Linked DNA regions of Homo sapiens: region 2 is linked to region 1. The links are contacts of gene promoters, found by promoter capture Hi-C in blood cells and fetal thymus (Javierre and others, 2016). All regions are on one chromosome and are shown on one strand. Each heading gives the region's core, a stretch centred on a gene start or on the middle of the fragment in contact. The rest is flanking DNA. Distances are from core to core; before and after follow the strand shown. Region 1 holds the start of IGFL1 (IGF like family member 1). Region 2 has its middle 29 kb from the start of IGFL4.

Region 1 (5,277 bases), core at 1,652-4,151:
ATGGAACCCTTTGAGTCAGAATCTGCCCAGGGAAGCCATCGGGCAGTCCGGGAGCCTGGGTTGGCCTCGGATGACTGAGGCCCAGGGACGCAGGCCCTGTGCAGACCCCCTGGCCCTGAGAAACAGGACCCAGAAAGGTGGTGGCTTCTTTGACTTTGGGGAATCCAGGTTGGTGGAGACCCTAGGGCTGAACGCTCCCTAAGGAACCTGCTTCTGGGTTGGGTAAGCAGCAGCGTGGCCCCCTCCCTGCGATCTATTCCACATCAGCACTGGCCACGAGGGTTTGTCCCTGGCACAGGGCCTGAAGAATGTGCTTCAGGTGCCTTGGCCAGCCTTTGCTTCCTCCTTCCAAACCCGAGGGCTCCTCCATAGCCCACATCCTCCACACCCCGCCCCACCCACTCCCTCTCAGGCTCCAGCTTTGGCCCAAAGTCAGACTAAGTGTGGCATCTCTGGGCGTTGGACCTGCCCAGTGGGTTTTCCACGATCCCAGGGGACGCGTGCCTGGGATGGGTGTGTGGCAGATCAGGTTTCTGTTAGCGACCAGAAGAGTCAGTTTCCACTAAACTTTATTTTTGATGAATGCATACCTTAAACATTATAGAACTGGATAAACTAGTGCCTGGGGATGAGGGCGGGAATGAGAAAACAAGCCCATTAAAACCCCAGCTGGGTTTTCTCAGACCCTAAAATCTGATCAAATAATAATAGCATTCTTCCACATATTCCTCATACTGGGGTCCATTTAAGATTAAGAAACTTTCCAAGACTCTGGAGAAAGCTTTCCAGACCCTGGACACTAGTTAAAGATTAGATATTGATAAGAATGAAACACGCTGTCTTGCAGGTGCACTCCGCACATAGGCGTGGAGCTTAGAATGCATATAAGCACTAGAAAAAGAAGTTTGTAGCTTTGAGTTGGTCTGGTAAGCTACTCTGACCTTCTCCCCATAGCCAGTTGGAGAAAGAACCTCCGTTCTTTCCCAGTCTGTCTGCATCTCCTTAACGTACATCAAGAACAAACAGCCGGGTCCTGTTCTGTCCCAGAACTGGTGGGAGAGGGAGTGCCTCTCCGAAGCCCTCTCGCGATCCCCACCTCCTCCCCACCCCACCTGGGCTGCTCCCGATGTTGTGACTGGGTTCAGGGAGCCATGGGGTGGTGGAGGCTGGTGTAGGAGGGTGGCCCCTGTCCCAGGTGCGGCCAGGGTCCTAGTCACCGAGCACAAATAACAAAATAATAAATTTAAAAATAAATGGAAAAAGAGAAAATAAGTGTGTGCACGAACAGAACAAATGGAAAGGCCCAGATGCCTCAGGGTGACAGAGAGAAGGGGCCCCACGTCACCCTCTGTGACCCCTTTCAACAGTCCAAGCTCTCTAATTCATGAATTCTACAGCATTCATTTATAAAGTACATAAATTTATTATGATCCTGTGCTTTGCTCCTGGATAGAAGAGAACTTGAGATGATGGAAAATCTCACAGAAGGGTGAAGGGTTCCCCAGCCAGCCTTGGGGTGGTGCCGGGTTGATGTTGGCCATAGGGGTCATCAGGAGGGTTCAGAGTCCCTGGGCCCCCATCAGCACACGCATCTCATGCTGTCCAGAATTCTAGAAGGGGACCTGTGGGCCTCCTCAGGGCAGCTGCAGGGTGGGCCTCAGACAGGTCACAGAATGAAGTGGGCAGTTGAGTGTGTGTTTCTCTGGCCCCCAAACAGCCACTCAGCATCCCAGATCTCAGGTAACACCAGCCTCTTTCTCCAGGCCCACCCAGGAAGGAGAATCCAGGAGTCATCGTTCCCCTGATGTTCCATTAGCTGACACTGGAGATAGTGACAGAGAGAGACACTGAGCGGGACAGAGATGGCCAGAGATGGGGGCGAGACTGAACATGGGCAGAAATGAGGACAGGAGAGCCAGGAGGAGAGGACAGCGGGGTAGAGAGAGTGAGATTCTGAGAGGGAAATAAAAATGGATGGAGACACAGGTGTAGGGAAAGGGAGAGGTGGATTGAATAGAAGCAGGGGGCAGAGACAGGGAGACAAGGAGAATGGGGGCTCCACCCAGGGCAGAACAGGCATGCAGCTACCCTGCACCCACAATCCCACGGAGGGGACAGGACTCACCTGCGACAAAGCCTGTCATCCGAGGTCCGGGCTGAGTCGCAGTTCTGGTTTATCAGCTTCACCATGAAGGTCCAGGGGCAGCACTGCTCAAAGCAGACTCTGAAGGTGCAGTTTCCACACGTCTGGGTCCTGGCCAAGGGCACGACGGCATCATCATAGCAACAGTGCTGCAGGGGGTCGTAGAACTTGTCCCCACATCTCTTGTGTGGCTGGCACAGCATCAGGTAAGGAGTCATGGGGGCCACTGGAGGAGACAGAGCTGGTGAGATCCAGGAGGTAGTGGCAGGTGGGTCCCAGCCTGGGGTCCCCTGGAAGGTGTACCCCTCCTCCAGCTTCCCAAACACTCCTGGGCTCACCTGGGGCTCCGTGTGAGCAGAGGAGCCTGGAGATGCAGAAAATGGCAAAGACAGCTGTGGGAAAGGGAAAGGGAAGATGGGGTGAGTGGACAGCCACAGATATGACTGGCACTGACATTTAGAAGAAGACTGGGTGGAACCAGGGCTCGGTATGGCTTTGAGCAGCTCAGGGACTGAAACAGGGCTGTGGATGGGGCTGATCTGGGCACTATGGATGGGGAATTGCTGTGAGCAATTCACGCCTGGAGATTTGGCTGGGCATGGGAACAGGGATGAGGTGTAGTTTGGGGTAGGGAGAGAGCCCTGGTGGTGGCTGAGATTGGAGATGGGCTCAGGTGGGAATGGGGTCCTGTCCTCCTTACCTACGATGCAGCCTCGGGGAGCCATGGCTCTGGGTGGTTGCAGTGGAGTGAGGAGGGGATCAGCAGATCTCAGCCACTCCTTTTATCCCATATTTCTAGTGGAGCTGGTGATGTCATGGCATTTCCTGCCCTCCTGCAAGTCCTGCAGAGACAGGCTGGGTCCTTGGGCAGGAGAGGTGCCAGGCAGGGTACGTGTCATTGTAGCTTTGATCTCACCTTTGTAATCAGGAGAGAAGCGGTACACCCTCCACCTTCTCTGTGCTATGTGCCCCAATCGTCCCCCACACTGAGTCCTCTGGAAAATAGGAAGGTTCAGGATGCTCCTGGCATTAACACTCTCCGACACTCACATGTCCACACAGCGATTCCACAGGATCCTACTGAGCTATGACTTTCCTCAGTTTCCTTGGGACATTGCTAACCCATGACATCATTTCAAAGGGTCCCATTAGGTCCCAACCTCACAACCGAAACACATGGTCAAGAATCCAGTAACTTCTCAGTCACCTGCAGCTCATGGCATTCAGGTGGGAGAGACTGTGTGACTCAGGCACCTGACTTTCACAGGTTTGGAAGGTGGGAGTGGAGCTGGCGGGACCCCTGGGACTCAACACTCCTCTGGGGGCTCTTCATCTCCTTCTCTGTCTCATTAATGGTCATTTACCCAGGACAGGTCCACTTGGGAGCCTACATGTCCCAGGCTTCGTGTCAGACACCAGTGATGCAGTGCTGAGTAGAAAACGCAAAGTCAGTGTCTTCGTGACGTTCATGACAGTGAGAGGAGAGAGAGAGAGAGAGAAGGTAGGAGAATAAAACTCCTGATTTTGGTTATTGTCGTTCTTGTGTTTGGTGTCATTATCACTGTGAAGTTCTGGTGGAGAAATTCCACATCCCCCCCTGAGATTCTCAAAGGTGTTTTTCCTTAATGTGCTTTTTCAGAGGGTTGGGTTGTGATTTTCCCTGAGAAGAGCCATCTTGGGGTCAGGATGTGAGGACAGAGGGGAAGGAGCTGTTTTGGGTCAGTTCTGTGCCCCCCTACCCCTGCCCAGCTTCTGCAGGAATTCCTCCGCTCAAGCTCACAGGCCACACATGGCATGGACAAGCCGTTCTCCTCCGGGCCAGGCAAGGTGACCTGTCACCCTCTAGGCACCATGGCTGGCTCCTAGCAGGGCATGGATGTGGTTAGATTTGTGTGTGTGGAAGATCCTGCATCTGTGTTCCTGGGGAGCACGGATAGGGGCTTCTCTCTGGAGGCAGGAGACACAGGAAGAGGCTGCAGAGAAATGACTTCAATAAATACCAGAGTGCTCAGCACCCACCTTCTCCCTCGACAGAGCAGACCCTGCTTCCAGCACCATCTCCCTGTCTGCTCCCTTGGCCTCTGTTCCTTGCTGCTGTGGGGTACAGCAGTGTTTTCTAGGACACAGATTAGGATGTGCTAGTAGCATGGAAAATCAATTTACTTGGGCATAAACAATGTTATTTTTAAGTGAAGAAATGGGTTAGAAAATGGGACAGTGTGCATTCAACAGAATGCTGTGCTCAACTGTTTATGACACTTTAAAAAAAATTATTTATTTTTTTGAGATGAAGCCTTGTTCAGTTGCCCAGGCTGGAGTGCAGTTGCACGATCTTGGCTCACTGCAACCTCTGCCTGCCAGGTTCAAGTGATTCTCCTGCCTCAGTCTCTGAGTAGCTGGGATTACAGATGCCCGCCAACACACCCGGCTAATTTGTGTATTCTCCATAGAGATGGGGTTTTACCGTATTTGCCAGGCTGGTCTTGAACTTCTGACCGCAAGTGATCTGCTCACCTCAGCCTCCCAAAGTGCTGTGATTACAGGTGTGAGCCACTGCGCCCAGCCTGTTTAGGACCCTCTTATTGGGACTGTGTATATTCCAAGTAATGATAGAATATTATTATATTGTTCTATCGTATGATATTATTATATGATAGCATAGCACATATCTAGAACTAGATATCTAGTTTCTGGAGGGAGTCACAGCCAAATGGTGAGGACACTTGGGAGCACAGAAGCCTCCAGGATCATCTCCTTCTTCTCTAAGAGCCACTGACATGTCTCCCCTTTGATGTCTTCCATAAAGGGGTAGAGTTCTCAGGTCCTTGGTTCCAGGCATTTTCTGGGAGGCTGCAGTGGAGCCCTGCACTGGTCTTACTGTCTCTACCAAGAAGAGGCAAGGCTGCCTGCATATGAGCCAGAGTGAGAGAGTGGAGCACCTTCCCCAGGGCAGGGGCAAGGTGGGCACCTCTGAGGAGGGAGGAGTCCAGCTGCTCCTTCCTGGCCTCTCAGAGCAGCTGAGTCAATGCAGCATCTGGAAGGTAGAGGGAGATTTTAGCAGATCATGGAGGCCTCGGAGGCTGGGACAGTGTGAGGCCAGTGGGCACCCGTCCAGGGCTCCCTGGACACTAAGA
Region 2 (5,723 bases), core at 1,507-4,006, 160 kb after region 1:
TCATTACCTCCATTGATTAAAATCCCATGGGTATAAATGAGACAAATACTTCTTAAGACTTACCTCTCTGCTAAGCTTTGGGTGGTCTAGAATGTGCATGTGCAGACCAGTCTTCATCCAGGAACTTTGGTGGACCCCACGTGGATTTGGGGGGCTCGCACTTCTTCACTGATGCCACACCTAAGGGATTCCAGTTCCATCAAGCCATCCAGAACCTTAGTTCTGCGGAACTGCTGTGCTATACTCAGATCCTTGCTACTTGCACTTCCGTTGGGAAACTGTCCCCAGGCAGAGTCCAAATATCCAGGTGTTCACTCTGTGACTTTACTTTCAGAGATTGATATTTTATCCTGTCTTCGTTCACCACCTGAAAACAGTGGCCTCATTTGGTTCATCCAGTTTTACTGTTGTCAATAGCAGGAAAAGTAGTCTCGTTGAAGTCACTGCCCTTAATGGCTGTAAGTTGGAGAATCCTCAGCTTCATTTTTTTCTGTTTTGAGACAGGGTCTCACTCTGTAGCCCAGGCTAGAATGCAGTGGTGTCATCTCAGCTCACTGCAACCTCTGCCTTCCAAGTTCAAGCCATCCTCCCACCTCAGACTCCCGAGTAGCTGGGACTACAGGCATGTGCCACCATGCCTGGCTAATTTTTTATTTTGTAGAGATGGAGTTTCACCATGTTGCCCAGGAGTTGCTGGTCTCAAACTCCTGGACTCATGTGATCCACCTGTCTTGGCCTCTCAAAGTGTTGGGATTACGGGCGTGAGCCACCGTGCCCAACCTCCTTACCATTTTTGAAGGCTATTTTAGAAAGGTCTTTGTTGGCTGTTATTTTCTTTTACCTCTGTAAAAATATTATTCCACCACTTGAACTTATGAATTCATTCTGCTGGTGTCCATGATCAGCAGACCAGGCTTACAGTTTCAGGAGTCGTGGTTTCACACTACCTCCTGTCTAATGCAAGTCACTACTGTCTTTGTCTTACACCTCCCCATCCCCACTTCAATGAAGATTATTTATTTGGTTCCAGGACCACACCCATTTATTCGTGTGTTTATGTTTATTTGATATGAAACTTCTCCAGATCCCTGGATGGGAGAGAAGCAGAACCAACTAGTGATACTAGTGATATAAGAGGAGTACTGGAAACCAGAAAGAGGGTGGCCTTTCAGGGAAGAGTATTGTGCTTGCAGAGAGGCTGTGTCTTCTCCTTACCCCCAACATAGTCAAGGGAGAGGCAAATAAGACTTGTGTCCTCATTCAGTGCATACTGAGCCCCTGAACTTTGCTGACTTGCTGGTGTGCCGCTGGCGTGAGGGAAAGCACATTGAGGAGGTTGGCTGAGCTGATACACATAGGCAGAGAAAAAAAGAAAAAAAAAAAAACAGGATCATGTCTTTTGAGTTCCTGATTCCTGAGAGTCATGGAAGGTGAATCCCATGCAGGCAAACAAACGCCATCTTGGGATTCTAGAGAGCATCATGAATGGAGGACCGCAGGCTTGTTGGGAGCTGTACTCCACTGGGCAAATATCGCAGACCTCTGGAGAGTATGGTGCCATGCCATCACCTGGGGTCACCTGGTGATTAGGCGATTCAATTTGAGGATGATTAATTTTTCCCCCAAATACAAAACATCGACCAAGAAAAACCCTTCAAAACACTTTGCACACACCCAAAATAGAGTCCAGATGCCCTGATAAGGAGTACTTCAGGCCCACCCATGTAAGAGAGAGGGTGAAGTAGGTACTTCTGGCTCCATGAACTGCCGATGTGCCTCCATGTTTGAGAGGAGCTTTATTTTGACAAAATGTAGGACAGCTGATGAGCCTGTAGATTTGACCCTCTGATGTTGTAAGTGAGGGTGCTTCTCCTTTAAATATCTGTATGGTCATCACTTTTCACCTAAGAGGGGATTGGGCGTTTTGAGCTGGGTGATGGGTAGTTAAGTCAGCAGCTTTCTGGACTCTGCACAATCACACAACCATTAGTAACACCACCAGAAATAAAATTCCTTTTTTTTTTTAGTTATTAAAATACATTTAATGCTTGGTATTGTGAGCATGCAGAAGAAAGAAAATAAGACTACAAAATGAAATAAGGGCTAGAATTTAAAGCCAATGTAAAGGAAATGTTCTAAATTGTGCAAGTGATTAACAGCCAGATGTTCCCCTATGATTCCGAACATGAGTCTCCAGTGCCAAGTTCCAGCCCGAAGTCTGTTGGACTCTCAGAGAAAATGTATAGTAACAAAAGCAGCCAAGACTTGCATGACGTCAGCTCTTATTTCTCCTTGAGTTTTTGTCCCGTGGATGTGAATCACTAAGAACACATGCATTCCTCAAGTTTTAGGAGATAAGGCAAAAAAAAAAAAATCTTAGAGATTTGCTTCAATTCGTATTTGAGCTTCATGGGATGCAAACATAGGAGACTAAAGCAGAAATGAGTATTGCTTCAGTAATCATGAGTCCACCCAGCTTAGTGAACAAAACAAGCGTTACCCTCCTAACCTTCCTGATAACAGGAATGTCTTGTTTGAAGTGTTTGGAGTCAGTGCATTTTACTGGCTGCCATTCAAAATATGTTTCAATTCTTAAAACTGAAACCCTGAACCTGTTCATTCATGTTTATTGCTTTAGTCTAATCTATTGTTTAGATTTTTCCCTATGCATATGGCTCAGAGCATCTTACACAATTTGCTTCAGAATTTTCACATCTATTGCTGTTGACTAAACACTCTAATTAAAGTGCCCAAATATGTACATACAAGAATATTTGTTGCAGAATTTTTAGGGTAAGGCTGAAATATTGCAAACAACCTACATAATTTTCAAAAAGAAGACAAATGAAATAAATTACAATTTATCCATAAAATAGAAATCTAGGCAGCCATGAGAATTATCTGTGATCTGTGGGCTTTTAGGGCTTCAAGGGGGGGATGTATGATATCTTATTTATAAGAAGGGAAAAGTGTGGCATATATGTAGACTTATATGTATTCAACTATACAGAATTTATGGAAAAATACAAACACTACATCTTAAATGCAGTTACCTTTGGGGAGGGTAGGAAGCATGATAAAAATTATCAATGCTCACCATGTAATCTTTACTTCTCAGACTGAACATTTTCATTAGAATACATTTGTTTCTTATCTGTATTATTATTTTAGGTGATATTTGAAAATTGAGTGAGAAAAGTCAGTCAGATGAGAGAGAAGAATACAGAGGGTAGGAAGAGACAGAGCAAATGACCTCAGCAACACAGAATCCAGATGGAGAGAAAATTGGGGGAAAGAGGTGGAAGATTTTGCTCATGGCATTGGCAGTGCCTGGCCTCTGAGGTGGGCTCTAGAACAAAGTCCTCCACTCCCTCTCATGTCTGGGGACATTCAACCATGTGAAAAGGTTTTCCAGGGAGGCATTTTCTCTGACCACCTGTTCTATACAGTACTGATAGGACAGCTTTCCCACGTACTGCCAGCAGCCCCGATCCAGAACTCAGCACTGCCCCTCCAGTCAGAATCAGAGGACCGAGGGGAAACATGCTCTCCTGTCCCTAATCACAAATGAAACTGTCTTTAGCATGAAGATATTCACTTGGTGAGAACTTAAGTCAACTGGACAAAGAGATGTAGGTCTCCAGTGCTCAGAGTGAATGTGTCTTTTGCAAAATCCCGAATGTGATTGCCCTGAGGCTGACATGGGGCCAGAAATGCCTGAGTCATCTCTACCTCTTCCTCTATGAAACCACATAATTGCCTCAGACTGAGCTCCCAATGCATTTAATTGTTTTGATCAAAGTCTTTCCCGGCGGTTCCTCAGAAGGAAGGATTGGGCCTGGAGGCCTACCCAGGGAGGGAGTCAGAGGCCGCCCACAGATGAACAATTCTATCTGTGTGTGCACCACCCTCCTACCAGACTTTGAAACCCTTCAACAAACAAGGGCTTTGGGATCCCCAAAATGAATCCCAAGCCCCTGGTTACAGAATCAACAAAGCGGGATGACAAATAAGGGAAAAGTTCAAATCTGGTAAACGTATCCCACAATTTGCAAGCAAAAAAATTGAGAACTATTTTTTTCAATTCCGCACACAATTAAGCATCATGTTTGCATTCAGTCTTGTTTTATGTTGGATTCCATCATGATGAGATTCGACACTCAGAGCTCGAGGTCTTTAATATCTTAATGTACCCTGTATCCCAGGACCTCAGATTACTGTCTAAGCCACTGCAAGGAAACATCAGCTCTGTCTGCCCTGGTGGGTCTTTCTTCATCTGGAGAGATAAAGAGATTGTTTAAGATTTGTGTTCAGAGACACATGGTGACACATGGTGGCGGAATTGGTTGAAGAGCATCTGTGACAAAAGGTGGAGAGATGGAGAACAGAGCAGGGTCCCCTCTTGGGAGGACCCAGTTATTGAAATTCCTTTTCTGCTGCTCTCTCCCCGCTTCAGCCTGGAGCATGGCAGGGATTCCTACCTGGATCCTTCTTTGATTATGGGGGAAGGTGCAGTCAGAGTTCACACCTGAAACCTTTTGACTCAAAGTCTTTTGATCCAAGGGACCAAAGAATGTTTGTCATCATTGCTGGAAGTGGAGCATAGGAGCAGGTGAATCCACACCTGGGTAAATGGCACTAGGGCTTACTCATGGGCTTATCCATGGAGCAGTTCTCCATGATGTCACAGATCTGGTTTCCACACCTGGGGGCTGGCTGACTGACTCTTTCCTGAGGGATAGATCAGATGTGGGTCCCAGAGAGAAACAAACCTGGCTGCCAACCTGGGGCCCTGTCAGAGCCCCATCCTGCAACCCCACAAATTCCTCCTCCATTCTGCTTGTTCATCACTCTTTCCTCACCTGAAACTCACTCTGAGCCTGAGCACACGTGGATGAGGATGCAGACAAGCCCCTGTGGGAAACGAATGGGGTCGGCAATGAGACTTATGTGCAGTCATCTGTTTCCTGCCTGGGGAATTTTCTAGGCTAGCTTTTGTTCTGGCTAAAGCTCAGCATTACTTTGGGGCTAATTCTTCTGGGATCAGGCTCATCGGGGTAGGGGCACTATTCCTGGGAGCTGGTCTTGGGCTCTCTGGAACCCAGGAAGGTGAAGGCATGCAAGGAAGCTCATAAAAGAGCCAAGATGAGAATCCAGGGAAGGGAGTGAGCTTCCTGGATGGGTGGAGGGCAAACTGGGACTGAGGTGCCACAGAGGCAATGAGGAAAACAGCGAGGGCCTGGGCTGAAAGCGGATGTCCAGATAGTAGTGTTAGGTATAGGCAAAGGTGGATATGCTGGGGCTGGGGTTGGAATTGAGATTGGGATCATCCTTACTAAAGGTTTGGCTTCTGTTTGCTGTGGCTTTGAAGCAGGCACAAGGAGAGTGGATGGGAGAGTGTCAGAGGATCTGAAATGGGGACTACGATTGAAGCTTGAAGCCCCTGTGAGCCTCTGGGAGGTTCTTTTATTGACCACAGCAAGATTGCAGAGTTCCCACTCCCAAATCTCTCCAGTGAGAACCAGATTGGACATGAGGACATGCCCTTGGCTGAAGGAGAGGAGCTGAGATGGTTTTAGGAGTACGATTGGGTGAACATAATTCATGCTTACTTGCTCTTAAATGTTTTCATTCCTCAACTTTAAATTTAAATGGTTGATATAGGTTGAATGTCCTCTCCAAATCTCATGTTGAAATATAATCACCAGTATTGGAGGTGGGGC

Evidence for each region. Contacts are between HindIII fragments. The CHiCAGO score rates a contact against its expected background, and 5 or more counts as called.
Region 2: a fragment that was not itself captured here is called in contact with the fragment with the promoter of IGFL1 in region 1 in 2 of 17 cell types (M0 macrophages and M1 macrophages); the score reaches 5.8 in M0 macrophages.

The regions. Positions count from the first base shown.
Region 1 is chr19:46,227,366-46,232,642 of GRCh38, reverse strand. IGFL1 (IGF like family member 1) reads right to left here and starts at 2,901. Exons shown (of 4, transcript NM_198541.2): 1 at 2,844-2,901; 2 at 2,482-2,535; 3 at 2,126-2,369; 4 at 1,400-1,822. The coding sequence starts at 2,868. The coding sequence ends at 1,813. RefSeq lists an enhancer at 2,354-3,553. The HindIII fragment of the contact is 5,684 bases long and covers 784-5,277 here.
Region 2 is chr19:46,066,797-46,072,519 of GRCh38, reverse strand. It overlaps a transcript of IGFL4 not described here. Among named protein-coding and RNA genes, the nearest start is that of IGFL4, 29 kb to the right of the region's middle. The HindIII fragment of the contact is 5,358 bases long and covers 78-5,435 here.